Linked DNA regions of Homo sapiens: region 2 is linked to region 1. Evidence: promoter capture Hi-C in 16 types of primary human blood cells and fetal thymus (Javierre and others, 2016). All regions are on one chromosome and are shown on one strand. The core of a region is centred on a gene start or on the middle of the fragment in contact, and the rest is flanking DNA. Distances in the headings are between cores, read along the strand shown.

Region 1 (7,248 bases), core at 4,653-7,152:
GGTAACAAGCTTCCAAATGATGTAACTGGGCCCCAGACCTCAGTTTGAGAAGCCAGGTTCTAGAAGTCAGCAGCAGGAAGGAATGGACCAATTAAGCAAATCAGCAAAGCAGAGGGACCACAGAAAAAAGGACGATGCTCCCGGGCCCCTCCCCCGGGACATATTTACACTAAAAATTATTCACTTTTCTATCTGAAGTTCTTATTTGCCTGACTGTCCTGTAGTTGTTTTGCCAGGATGTCATCTAATGTTTGTTTTTGTTTTGGACACGGAGTTTCGCTCTTGTCAACCAGGCTGGAGTACAATGGTGCAATCTTGGCTCACTGCAACCTCTGTCTCCCGGGTTCAAGTGATTCTCCTGCCTCAGCCTCCCCGAGTAGCTGGGATTACAGGCATGCGCCACCATGCCTGGCTACTTATCTTTGTATTTTTAGTAGAGACGGGATTTTGCCATGTTGGCCAGGCTGGTCTTGAATTCCTGACCTCCCGTGATTCACCCGCCTCAGCCTCCCAAAGTGCTGGGATTACAGGTAGGAGCCACCACACCTGGCCTGGCCTGTAGTTTTATTGGCTAAGTCTGGTAGCCCTAGCATGGGTGGAGAAGGCTGTAGCTGTGGAAGCCCAGCCAGTCTGCATCTGAGGCAGGGAAAGGCAGCTAAGGCAGCCTGCCGTCAGCCCATTGACCTGACAGATAGGGGCCAATGTGGCTTACTCCTCATCTAGCCTACCCTTGTGCCGTCCTCTCCAACATCCATCCACCTGACAGATGGATGACCCTTCCTCTTCCCCAGGGGTTGTTTTGATGAGTAGATGACATTTCTAAAGAGCGCTTAGTGCACTGCCTGACACCTGGTAAGTGGTCAAGATGGGGAGAACTGATTGTTTCTACTATTCTTTCCCTCTCACAGTGGCCACCGCAGCGCTAAACACGGTCGGTCGGCATTCAGTGCTCGCCGTGGAAGCGAACCGCAGGAGCATCCTGGGGCAGCGGGGAGTTGCTGCACTCACCTAGACAGGCGGCCTACTGTGACTTCAGGCAAGTCATTTTCCTTCTCTGTGCCTCAGTTTCTTTGTCTGCAAAATGAGCAGCTGGACTAGAAACTTACCATTCTTTCACAGCACGTCAAACTCAACATGCCCATTTGAGCTGAAGACACTGAGGCTACTCACTGGGTGTGAACCTTTGACAGCATCCAGGCCCTGCACAGTTGTCTAGGAGAAGCCTGACCCATGATGTCCTTTCCGCTACCCACCTGCCACGAGCCCCAGTTCTGAGCTGGAGGGGTGGGGGTGGGTGGAAGGTGGATAGTGGTCAGTGCCTCACCTGGCCGACTGCAGCCTGGCAGAGTCCATGGGGGACCTCGCAGCACAGTGGATCCTCTTGCCTTGTGTCTCTAGTTGGTCCAGCTCTGGTCTATTCCATGCTATTCCGTTGTCATGGGCAGGACTGGGTTTGATGAAGTTGGACCTAGGTGTATCCCAGCCTCTCCTGGTTTCTGTCGTCTTTCTGTGGTGCCCAGGGCTTATGTTTCTATCTCTTTGAATGTTGAGTTTACTCCGTCCTTCAGGGATCAGGGCTGCCTGAGCTCAGGGTGGAGGTGCTGTTGTCTGTCTGGCTTCCGGGCCCTGGACTGGCAGTGTCCCCCAGCACCCCTGTCCAGCTATGCCAAGCCCCCTCCTTTTCTTTCTTGGCCTCTGCCCTATTTGTTCTGTGACTGGCCCAAGAGAGGGGTGTGGGCTGGCAGGTGTCCCACATAAAGCCTGGAGGCAGCATCCAGGCCTGGCTGACTTACCCCGGGGCCCCCTGCCTACTGCCCCCAGCCAAGCTGGGTCTCCTTCTTCCTGCCCAGCTGAGGCAGGGCCTAGAAGGGCACCGAGGCAGGCCCTCTGTGATGCTCCTGTTGCTATGGTAATTCTAGATGAGAAGGCCATAGCATTCTGTGTCTGGCACCCCCGCGCATCTCCCCAGCTCTGCCCTGCTGCCCCAAGAGATGGCTCTCTGCTGGGGAGCTCGAGAGCTTGGAATCTGCTGCAGTCAAAGTTTCTTCCATGCGGCCAGGCACAGTGGCTCATGCCTGCAATCCTAGCACTTTGGGAGGCCGAGGCGGGTGAATTACTTGAGGTCAGGAGTTCAAGACCAACCTGGCCAACATGGTGAAACCCCATCTCTACTAAAAATACAATACTTAGCCGGAAATCACTTGAACCCAGGAGGCAGATGTTGCAGTGAGCCAAGATCATGCCACTGCACTCCAGCCTGGGTAACAAAGCGAGACTCCGTCTCAAAAAAAAAAAAAAAGTATCTTTCATGCAGGCCCCATCCTTTGGACCTCCCTTCAACCCCAAGAGAGACCACTACCCTAGCAGGTAAGACTCTACCTCTCAGAAACTGACCTTTACTGTAGAGCTGATAGTGGGAAAGGGCTCAGGATCCAAAATCAAAAGACCTAGATCCTAGTCTCAAGCCATTTATAGCTGTGTGACCTTGGACAAGGCAGGCCTTGAGCTTCAGTGTCCTCCTTTGTAAAATGTGGATAAACATGCGATACTGAATCATCCTTCAGGAATAGCTCTATGACTTTCCGTAGGTTGTTCCCCTGATGTGTAATGCTCTTCCATTCTTCTCAGCTCCATGAACTCCTACTCATGCTTCAAGACCCAACCGAAATGCCCCATTGTCTGTAAAAATTTCCCTGACCTCTGTGCACTTGGCACAGATCTTAGGCCTTGCCATTCTGTGTTAGAGTTGTTATTTAAGTGTTTCCAAATTTTTTGACTATGAATACGTACAGGCAGGAATCAGATTAGGCTCAGTTCTGGAAGGAGAAATGGTTTGGCGAATATTTTCTTTGCGGAACGGAAAGCAGAAGAGGGCGACCTTGACTGGGTTGGGTGCCATCTCTGCAGGGGTCAATCCTGGGACTCTTGTTCCAGGCATGGCTTGGGTCAATCAGCACTCATGACTTTGCTGTGTGCCTGAGCCGTGCCTGGCTAACTGGGGACATTTTCATAGCTGAGACCCAGTAGGAGAGACCATGACTTGTGCCAGGGTGTGCCTGTCTCAGCTCTGGGGCAGGGCCAGGAGCAGCTGCTCATGGGATGTCTCTGGGGACATGCTGGGGCCTCTGGGAGGGGAAGGGAGACTGGCCATGCACTGTCTATGGTCCTGGTGGTACTCCTGGGATATTGCCAAGGAGCCTGCGGTTCAGGGAACAGGGAGGAGGGACTCTAGTGTCTCCAACTCCCTCTCATGGCTCTATGGCTGCTGGTCGGGGTCAGGGAGATGAAGCAGTGCCAGCTCCGTGGTCTGCACTGATCCTGACCAGTGAACCAGGCTTCCCCAGCCAGAGCCAGCTAGTCAAGCACGCTCTCTAGTGGCCACCACAGGGAAGGCAAGAACTTGTCTCCACAAAGGCAGGATTTTCATTTATTCCTTCAGAGAGTACAGAATGAGCATCAATGTTCCAGGCATGGTGCCAGGCATGTGTGTTAACTTTAGTTAAAACATACTTATTGGCCGAGTGTGGCGGCTCACTCCTGTAATCCCACCACTTTGGGAGGCCTAGGTGGGAGGACTGCTTGAACTTAGAGCTCAATACCAGCCTGGGTAATGTAGTGAGACCCTATCTCTATAAAAAAAAAAAAAATAGCTGGGTGTGGTGGTGTGCGTCTGTAGTCCCAGCGACTTGGGAGGCTGAGATGGGAGGATTGCTTGAGCCTGGGAAGTGGAGGTTGCAATGAGCCAAAATCACACCCATTGCACTCCAGCCTGGGTGACCTTGTCTCAAAAATATAGTTATATATTTACTTATATATTTATATGTATAAATATATGTGTACATACAAATATATTTGTAATATTATAGACATATTAATACATATTTACATATGTTAATATATAAATATATATAATATATATTTATCATCTTCTAAATGGAAAGCTCTTGAGTTTCAGGATGTGTTGGTTGGGAAGGGAATACAGGATAGGGAAATAATCCATTAAGCAATGACTCAGCACAGGCCATAAAATCAGAATCACCTGGAGAACTTGAACAATCCCAACACCTGGGGTCCATCCAGACCAATCAAATCAGAATTCGTAGGGGTCAGGCACAGGCACCAGTGGTTTGGAGAGTTGACGGACACATGTCCCATCCATCATTCTCATTCGGCTGCCAAGGTAGGCATCGTTGTCCCATTTTGCATATGAGGAGACTGAGGCTGAAGTGAACCTGCTTCTTTCCCCATATCAGTTGAGGACAGCGATGGGGCAGCGGGGAGGCAGTAAATACTCCTACAAGGCTGCCTCTAAAGAGAGTCTTATAATAACAACAGCTTTATTGTTTGCCATGATTAGAAAAGTATTCAAGGTCATTGCGAAATAGTGTTTTTTTTTCTAGGCAGATAATTATATAAAGGCAAAAATGGTGTGTGGGGGTGGGGGACAAGGGGAGGGAGAGCATTAGGACAAATACCTAATGCACGCAAGGCTTAAAACCTAGATGATGGGTTGACAGGTGCAGCAAACCACCATGGCACACGTATACCTATGTAACAAACCTGCACATCATGTATACCTATGTAACAAACCTGTACATTCTGCACACGTATCCCAGAACTTAAAGTGAAAAAAAAAGTGGTGTGTAGAAAAATCACCTGCAATCTCAGCATAGTTAACGCTTAGTACATTTCAGAGAGAGAGGGTGACAGGAAAGGGAGGATGAGAGTGGGTTTAAGACACAAGGTCATATTATAAAATCAGGGCTTCTGGAAGTTTAGTCCCAAAACCACACATCTCATAATCCCCTGCAGTGCTTGATTAAAATGCAACATCCCTAAGGCCACAGACTCAGACTCTGGAGAAAGATCCAGAAAACTGCCCGTTTAATAAACATTTGGGCGATTCTTACGGCCTCTAAAGACCAAGAACCACTGCTGCCTAGAGCTCTGCTCTCTTCATTGAACAATACAAGAGGAGTGTGTAGGTAGACACCCACCACTTCCAACAGCTTAGGAGAGCCCTTGAGTATGGATTGATGTATTAAAATTTATTGAATCACATGCTGAGATTTTCACCAGCTGCCCGTGGGGATCTGGGCATTTATTCCCATATTGCACTGGCTGGCTGGAAGCCAGCAGCATAAACTCCAGGGCTGTTCTGTCAACCCCCACCAGACTCACCCCCCTCCACCAGCCCCGGCAGGCTTCTCCTTCCATCTCTCTGAAGCAACTTACTGATGGGCCCTGCCAGCCAATCACAGCCAGAATAACGTATGATGTCACCAGCAGCCAATCAGAGCTCCTCGTCAGCATATGCAGAATTCTGTCATTTTACTAGGGTGATGAAATTCCCAAGCAACACCATCCTTTTCAGATAAGGGCACTGAGGCTGAGAGAGGAGCTGAAACCTACCCGGGGTCACCACACACAGGTGGCAAGGCTGGGACCAGAAACCAGGACTGTTGACTGCAGCCCGGTATTCATTCTTTCCATAGCCCACAGGGCTGTCAAAGACCCCAGGGCCTAGTCAGAGGCTCCTCCTTCCTGGAGAGTTCCTGGCACAGAAGTTGAAGCTCAGCACAGCCCCCTAACCCCCAACTCTCTCTGCAAGGCCTCAGGGGTCAGAACACTGGTGGAGCAGATCCTTTAGCCTCTGGATTTTAGGGCCATGGTAGAGGGGGTGTTGCCCTAAATTCCAGCCCTGGTCTCAGCCCAACACCCTCCAAGAAGAAATTAGAGGGGCCATGGCCAGGCTGTGCTAGCCGTTGCTTCTGAGCAGATTACAAGAAGGGACTAAGACAAGGACTCCTTTGTGGAGGTCCTGGCTTAGGGAGTCAAGTGACGGCGGCTCAGCACTCACGTGGGCAGTGCCAGCCTCTAAGAGTGGGCAGGGGCACTGGCCACAGAGTCCCAGGGAGTCCCACCAGCCTAGTCGCCAGACCTTCTGTGGGATCATCGGACCCACCTGGAACCCCACCTGTGAGTACAAGGTGCCCCAGGTGGACTGGGCTGGGGCTTTGAGGCCTTCAGGGTTGGATGGCCATCTTGCGTATTTGTGTGGGATATGCACACACAGGCAGCACATGCGCAGGTGTGTGGGCACCTGTGTGTCTGTGCAAATGCCCTGAGGTGGGAATGAGCTTGGTGTGCATCAGGCACAGCCAGCCAGTGTGGCTGCAGCAAAACACACAGGGAAAGAATGGAGGGGGCATCAATCACTGCTTCAGTAAATTTTTATTGAGCGCCTTCTACGAGAACACAAGAGGAGCTTCCATTCTGAGGAGGAAACAGGCAGGAAACAGGCAGATATCCTGTATAATTTCAAGTAGTGATAAGTGCTCTCTAGAAATATCAAGCAAGGTGAGGAGACACAGAGCACCGGTGGCAGTGGGGCTCTATTTCCAGGTTGGATGGTTGGGAACATCCTTTCTAAAGGGAACCTGGAGTGGGAAGGAACCATGCAGGTATCTCAGGAAGAGCTTCCTCCAGGCAGGAAGATCAGCAGGTGGAAAGGCCCTGGAGCCACCATTCAGTAAACATCATTTGAGCATCTCTACCAGCTAGGTTCCATTATGGGAATGGGAATATGGTGGTGGACAGGGCTGCCTGGTCCCTTCCATACTTCTCACACTAGGGTGGTTGAGAGAGCTTGGGAGCTAACGAACAAGATGGGCTGAGAACACTGCCTAGCCCAGAGGACCTGAGCTTAGTGTGTAGACATTGCTGCTGTTACTGCCTTTGTCATTGTATTATTTATTTATTTATTTATTTATTTTTAGACAGAGTTTTGCTCTTCTTACCCAGGCTGGAGTGCAATGGCGTGATCTCAGCTCACTGCAACCTCCACCTCCTGGGTTCAAGCGATTCTCCTGCCTCAGCCTCCTGAGTAGCTGGGATTACAGGCACCCGCACCACGCCTGGATAATTTTTTTGTATTTTTAGTAGAGACAGGGTTTCACCATGTTGGCCAGGCTGGTCTCGAACTCCTGACCTTAGGTGATCCACCTGCCTCGACTTCCCAAAGTGCTGGGATTATAGGCATGAGCCACTGCGCCCAGTGATTATAGAAAGTTAAAGGCACATGGCAATGCACACGCCTATCTACGTCTTCCCTGCCAAAGCAAAGGGCAGCCTCTGGGCTCACTTTCTTGCGTTTCTACTTCCAAAAGGCAGTCAGAACTGGCAGGGCCTTGGAGACCACTTCATCCACCTCCTAGGGTCCCTATGGGAGAGTTGAGGTCCAGAGCA
Region 2 (6,463 bases), core at 1-2,500, 98 kb before region 1:
ATCAGCATCTGCCAAGTGAGGCCAATTTTCCCTCACTAAGGAGTGGCACCGTGAGTGAAGTAGTATTCCCGACAGCCTTGGCGCCTAAGGCTTGGAACAAGGCGAGGAGACAGCCTGGCTCCCCAGTTCTGGTTTGTACACCCTCTTCTTATTTCATTTCCACCCGTGAGACTATCTGAGCAGGAACGTGGATTTTTCTGTAACATGGCCAATTCGCAGGAAATCAGCCACAGTTCTGTACTTTGGAAGCCTCTCTAAGCTGCCAGGGATTCCATTTTCTGCCAAAGTACAGGCTATTGTTATTCTTCTAGGAAACAGTTTGCCAGCTTTAATTAGAGGTGTCTAGAAAACAGAACTGATGAACTTGAGGCCCTCTGATAAGTGGGGACAAAGGCTTCATTTTCTCGGCGAGGCTTTGTAATGTAGAGCCGTTGGCTGTCCTGACAGATGTTCTCTGTGTCTCCAACAAAGAAAGTCTAGTCCCACCAGCTGCACTGGCAAGAAGGCGTCTTTCTTGTGCGTGGTGGCCAGAGAAGCCTCTCCTTTCCCGACATCTTCTCACCCCCGACACTTCTGGAACGCTGGCTTTGGGGCAGGAGATAGGGGTGGGAGGCTGTGAGGATCTGGTTGTTCAGTTACCAGCGGCGTTTGGAAGTCCCCAGCCAGTGCCGCGGTGTTCTGTGGAAATCCCCGCTCTCACACTCATGGGGAAAGGATTGGTGCTTCCTGGGTTCCTGGTGTTTTGACCTGTGCTCTGGCTCTCGCAGGACCCGGCCGCCCTGGAAGGAACCCTGGTCTCTTGACTGAAGTGACAGTGGGTCTGATGGGACTTGTCACATGCCAGTCCCACACACCACAGCAGGGCCAGGTGGGGCGGCCAGGTCCCAGGGCCTCAAGCCACCATCCCAGTCTCCAGAGCAAGGATGCCGGCCAGGGCTTCTATCTCTGGGGACAGATAAGCAAAGCAGCCCTGCCAAGCGGCTCCCAGCACGTGGAACTGTGAATAGCGCGGGCTCCGCAGTAAAGCCCTTTTCCTCGTTTTCTGCATTTTGGTCTTATTGATGCTGTCCAGGAGGATTCTTTTTGTCATATGTAGCAAAGTATATTCACTTTACCCAGAGATTCATTTCTTGTGTGCTTAGAAAGTTCTTCATACATATTATTTTCAGTTCTTTAAGGTTTTGTGTTTCAATCTTTAACTTCTGCCAAATGGGATATGGGTAGGATGATGTTCGGCCTTCACTTTTCTCCAGAGTCGGCCAGTTTTCCCGGCACCCCCATGAGGTGGCATTGCTTCTTCATATGAGGCAGTGAGTGCTCCTGAGCCCGGGCTTGGCCTGGGCTGGGCTGTCTGTCCTCTCCCAGGCCACCGTCTGGATGACTTGGGGGCCACACTCACACTCATTCATCCTTGGCACTTAACTCATTGGAAGCTCGTAGTGGGGTGCCTTTCCCCTTCTCTTTCTCTCTCTTTTTGTTTTTGTTTTTGTTTTTGAGACAAGGTCATGCTCTGTCACCTTGGCTAGAGCGTAGTGGCGCAATCTCGGTTCACTGCAGCCTCAACCTCCTGGGCTCAAGCCATCGTTCTGCCTCAGCCTCCCGAGTAGCTGGGACTACAGGCACCCGCCACCATGCCCGGCTAATTCTTGTATTTTTAGTAGAGATGGGGTTTCACCATGTTGGCCAGGCTGGTCTCGAACTCCTGACCTCAAGTGATCCGCCTACCTCAGCTTCCCAAAGTGCTGGGATTACAGGCATGAGCCACTGTGCCCGGCCAAGGTCTGTACTTCTTTATATGTCTCATGGATGTTTCTTTTAAAACGCAATCCTTATATGTTTTATATTTTGTCATTATGATTGGAGGTTCTCCAGTACTCGGGAAAGCAGTGGATATTGGGGTAGTTATCTTAATTTTCTTTTTTTTCTAAATTTTTGTTTGCATGGCCTTCCAATGAATGGGATAGTTATCTTTTGTCCCGCTAGTGTCCACTTACGTCTCTTCGTAATTCTAGTTGTGTTTCGGTTGATTCTTTTGAGTTTCCTGGGTAGATGATCATATCCTAGAAAATAATGAAAACGTAGTCTCTCGGCCCAGCGTGGTGGCTCACATCTGTAATCCCAGCACTTTGGGAGGCCGAGGCTGGCGGATCACGAGGTCAGGAGATCGAGACCATCTTGGCTAACACAATGAAACCACCGTCTCTACTAAAAATACAAAAAATTAGCTGGGCATGGTGGCACACGCCTGTAGTCTCGGCTACTCTGGAGGCTGAGGCAAGAGAATCGCTTGAACCTGGGAGGCGGAGGTTGCAGTGAGCTGAGATAGCACCACTGCACTCCAGCCTGGGCGACAGAGTGAGACTCCGTCTCAAAACAACAACAACAACAACAACAACAAAACAAAACAAAACAAACAGAAAAAAAGTGTAGTCACTCTTTCTTTCTTCTCTTTCTTTCTTTCTCTCTCTCTTTCTTTCTCTCCCTCCCTCCCTTCCCTCCCTCCCTCCCTTCCTTCCTTCCTTCCTTCCTTCCTTCCTTCCTTCCTTCCTTTCCTTCTTTCTTTCTAATCTGGATGTTGAAGTAGTCTCTTTCTTTCTAATAGCTCCACTCTGTTTTCTGCTTTGGGTTTTATTGCATTGACGGGAAATTTCAGAGCTGAGTTTAATAGCGGTGATATTGGCAGCAGCCTTGTTTTGTTCTTCTTTTGCCATATCCCCGTTTTCTGAGGGGGCTGGTGAGACCATTATCCCGGTAGCAGTGTAAAGGGGCCTCAGAAGCCGTGCGGTGCCTGAGATCCTCCTCCTCCTCCCATCCGGGAAACCACCTCTGCTGCTCTGACTGTCTGAAGCTAACCTCCTGGGCTTCCTGCTTGAGGCAGACCTTCATGAACAGGCTTAAGCCACCCATCCCGCCTTGGGACACACATGCCGCCCTCTCGGGGACCTTGGACTGGGACCTTGCCATTCTGCTCCTGCTGGGGAGGTCGTGCCGCCTGTTTCTCTCTGTGTGTGAGTTTGCAGGTTCCCAGAGGCAGAGACTGGGCTTTGCGACAGCTCCCCTCCCCCAACCCTCGATGGACAAGGAGGGCCCTTGTCATTCCTCAGACATTTTGTTCCAAAGCTGAAAGGTCCCCTCCACATGGCCCGGCATCCCCCAGGCCCTCATCCAAGCCTGGCCTTGAGGTGCATGGAGAGGCCGAGGACAGGAGAGTCAGCCCCGCCGCCAGGGCTGGCTGCACTCCCTCCCTTGCCCCTGGCCTGCGTCTCTGCCTGTCAACCGCAGCCTGGGAAGGCACTGTTGCTGATCAGGGGGAGGTCCATGTGTGCCACCCACACCCTTGGCCGCAGCCCAGCCAGGTGAAAGTCATGTGTCTTCCTTGCCTCTTGGGCTTTCTCTGTGTGTGTGACGGGGACTCCTCTGGAGGAGGAGATGTGTGGGGTCCTCCACTCCCCACACTTGGGGCTCTGAGCCCCCAGTTGGGAAGAAGCCTGACTCTTGTTGAGTGAGTCTGTGGACCGGGCACTGTGATGGGCAGTGTGCGTGCACAACGTCACTTAATCCTTGCTTAACCCGTGAGGCGGGAGCTGTCATCGACCCATTTCATGGATGGAACAGCTAAGGCCAAGAGACATGAAGTGACTTGTTCAAGGTAACAGCAAGGAAAAGGCAACACCACTGTCCGAACCCAAACCATCTGGCTGCAAACCACAGCTTCGGAGTCCTGGGGGCCCTTGTGAAATATGTTTGTTGGGTAGCCCCAGCTTTCTGATCAATTAAACAGCCAGGCACTCACCCCCCTAGCTTGCTACATTCTAAAATACCTCTCCCTCCCTTCCCTGGTCCCATGACTTAAACGGCAAAGCTCTGGCAAAGAACTGAGCGTGGGAAAGATGAGAGCAGAGAGTTAGCCACAGGGCAGGGCTTCGTATCCCAAACCCACAGTTGTACTTTCTGGTTTGGGAGGGGAGTATTGGCCATCCCCCAGCAGAGCCGCTGCAGCTGAGGCCATCGAGATGGGCACAGATGTGTAGTGGTATGTCACCATACGCATGTACATACACGTGCGTGACTGTGATGAGCATTTTGCTCACCGTCCCACAGAGGCCCACTCTGAGGCCTGCTGCTGCCTGGCAAGCAGGACCCCCTGGCTCCCGAGGGTCATTCTGGGGCATTGAAGGGACGCACACTAAAGCCAGCAGTGCTTACCAGCAGAGGCAGCCCCTGTAACCTGTGTTGTCCACCCACAGGCCACCATCACCCATGAGAACAGGGTGCCTACTGTGCACATGCAGCTCCAAACAGACTCCCCAGGTGCCTCCCAGGCCCCCACAACAGCGTGGCCAGCCCTCAGTCCCTCCATAGGATGCCCTGGCCCCTGCTGACCTGCCTGGGTTGCCCTCTGTGCTCACTTCCGAGTACAGCCGGCCCAGCCCGAGAGGGATGGGATGCTCTGTGGGACAGAGATGCGGTGGGGAGGAGCTCTTGAGCAGAGCTGGAGACACTGCATGCCAAGGCTGGGGCTATGAGCCTGCTCCCTGGCCTCTGGGAGAAGCTTAGAGCAGGACTCAGGGGCCTGTTCTGTGGGCCACTGCAGGCCCCGAGACTGGCCACCTCGAGAGCAACGTCTGCAGTGCTGGCTCCTCCAGCAACTCCGTCCACTGGAGACTCATGAAAGGCTCCTGTGAGGCCTCCCTGGCTCGGACCTCTCCATGGCCGGCCTCAGCCCTGGCCTTAATAATAGTCTTCCTGCAAGTGGCCGTCCTTTCTGGGAATGAGTGAGATCCTTGCCAAGGCTCAGGAGGCCACACAGAACAAAGGGACTGTTTCTGGGGGTTCTTCAGCTGGTTGTGCCGTGACCATGGCCATTGGCGCCAAGATGCAAGCCTTGGGGACAGGGTGGACCTGGTTCCCACCCACAGCCTCTTCCCTCAGGAATCCATGCTCTCCCTGTGATTTGGACAATCATTTTACTCACCTGGATGAGAGGGGCACTGGCCTAGGCATCATCCAAGGTCCCTTCCCTCTGTAACTCACTTTGACCTCCTGACTGCAATAAGTATGACTGGACACTATAGGAGGAGGCATCTCTGGCCTTCGGATCCAGGGGTATAGGGAGGGTGACGGGCAGTGTCCTGGGGTCAGCACTTGGCATTATGCCCATGTTCTCATTGGCTCCTCTTACCAACCACTGATTCAAATGCCAGACAAGGCTCAGCAAGGCTAAGCGACTCACATAGTCTCAGCACTGGTGAGAGGCAGAGTCGGCTCAAGCGCATCTGCTGGCTGCAAGCCCAGCCTCCCCACACTGCAAGGGAGAGGAGCAGGTGTCACTCAGTGAGCGGCATCTTTTGGTCTCAGTCCTGGAAGTGCAGGGTGGGCTGGTCCCTAGGGGCTGGACCATGGAATTAAGGGCTCCAGGGATCCCCTGGGGCCGTGGTTCCTATGCCTGGCATTGGACAATGACGATGCCCAGGACCCAGCCCAGCCCTCCTCCATTAGAGCCTCTGGGCATCAGGCTGCCCAAGGTGCAGGCTCTGATGGGGAAGAAACCGGTGCCGTCATGGGGACCTCAGGTAGCCAGATGTGGCCTGAGGAGTCTGTGCTGTGGCCTCCTCTGTCCTCAAGGTTAGGCTCCAGCTGGGGAGGAGTGATTCACTCTTGTAAATTACAGGGAGGCTCCAGGGAGGCAGATGCTCCCAGCCTGATGACTGGCAGCAATTCTGGGGCCCTTACCTAGGTTCTCCCTGCCACTGCGGGCTCCGGGAGCTCTCCATGGTGACCTAGGAACTCCCCTGGGTGCTTATGCTCCGCCGAGAGTTGCTCTGTTGCACATTCATTCAACAAACATTTGTTTAGTGCCTGTCACATGGGCTCAGAGTCAGCTTTTTGGGTTCTGATCCCAGTCAGGGCCACTTCCTGTGGCCTTGGGCCATGGCTTAACGCTGAGCCTCAGCCTCAGAAGTGCCGGCCTTGTAGAGGATCGATGCCATCGGGCCAGTGCTCGGCTAGGGCTGAGGAAGCGTTGGCCGCTGCTGGCTGTAGCATGGGGAGCCCAGAGGGCTGGAGGGGCCCCAGGCTTGGTGGGCCCAGGGTGCAGATTGACAGGAAAGGGACAGTGGTGTGCCCTGAGCAGATAGAAGGGATGGTGGCTGCAGGATGGGTTGGGGAACATGGGAGGCTGGGAGCTGAGGCTACTGGGTGCTCATGATCTCTCCTCTCTCCTCAGTACGGCAAGAAGAAGCTGAAATACCTGCCCTACAATCACCAGCACGAATACTTCTTCCTGAGTGAGTGCTCGGCGCCCCGAAATCACTCTGGGACCCTCCCCTCCCCCCAGAGTGGCGTGTCTCTCCCTCCTACCTGACATCTTTTTCAGATCCAGAAAGTGACACTAAACTTGTTAGAAGCGGGGGCCACAGCAGCCTTGCTGTGCAGACCCCTCAGCCTGTGTTACAGGCCTGAT

Evidence for each region. Contacts are between HindIII fragments. The CHiCAGO score rates a contact against its expected background, and 5 or more counts as called.
Region 2: a fragment that was not itself captured here is called in contact with the fragment with the promoter of BEST1 in region 1 in 1 of 17 cell types (neutrophils); the score reaches 5.6 in neutrophils.

What each region holds. Positions count from the first base shown.
Region 1 is chr11:61,944,449-61,951,696 of GRCh38, forward strand. BEST1 (bestrophin 1) reads left to right here and starts at 5,903. Exons shown (of 11, transcript NM_004183.4): 1 at 5,903-5,979. It also overlaps a transcript of RAB3IL1 not described here. RefSeq lists a silencer at 1,601-1,764. The HindIII fragment of the contact is 17,311 bases long and covers 8-7,248 here.
Region 2 is chr11:61,850,785-61,857,247 of GRCh38, forward strand. FADS2 (fatty acid desaturase 2) reads left to right here. Exons shown (of 12, transcript NM_004265.4): 6 at 6,227-6,287. Among named protein-coding and RNA genes, the nearest start is that of MIR6746, 24 kb to the right of the region's middle. RefSeq lists an enhancer at 6,209-6,463. The HindIII fragment of the contact is 6,600 bases long and covers 1-4,550 here.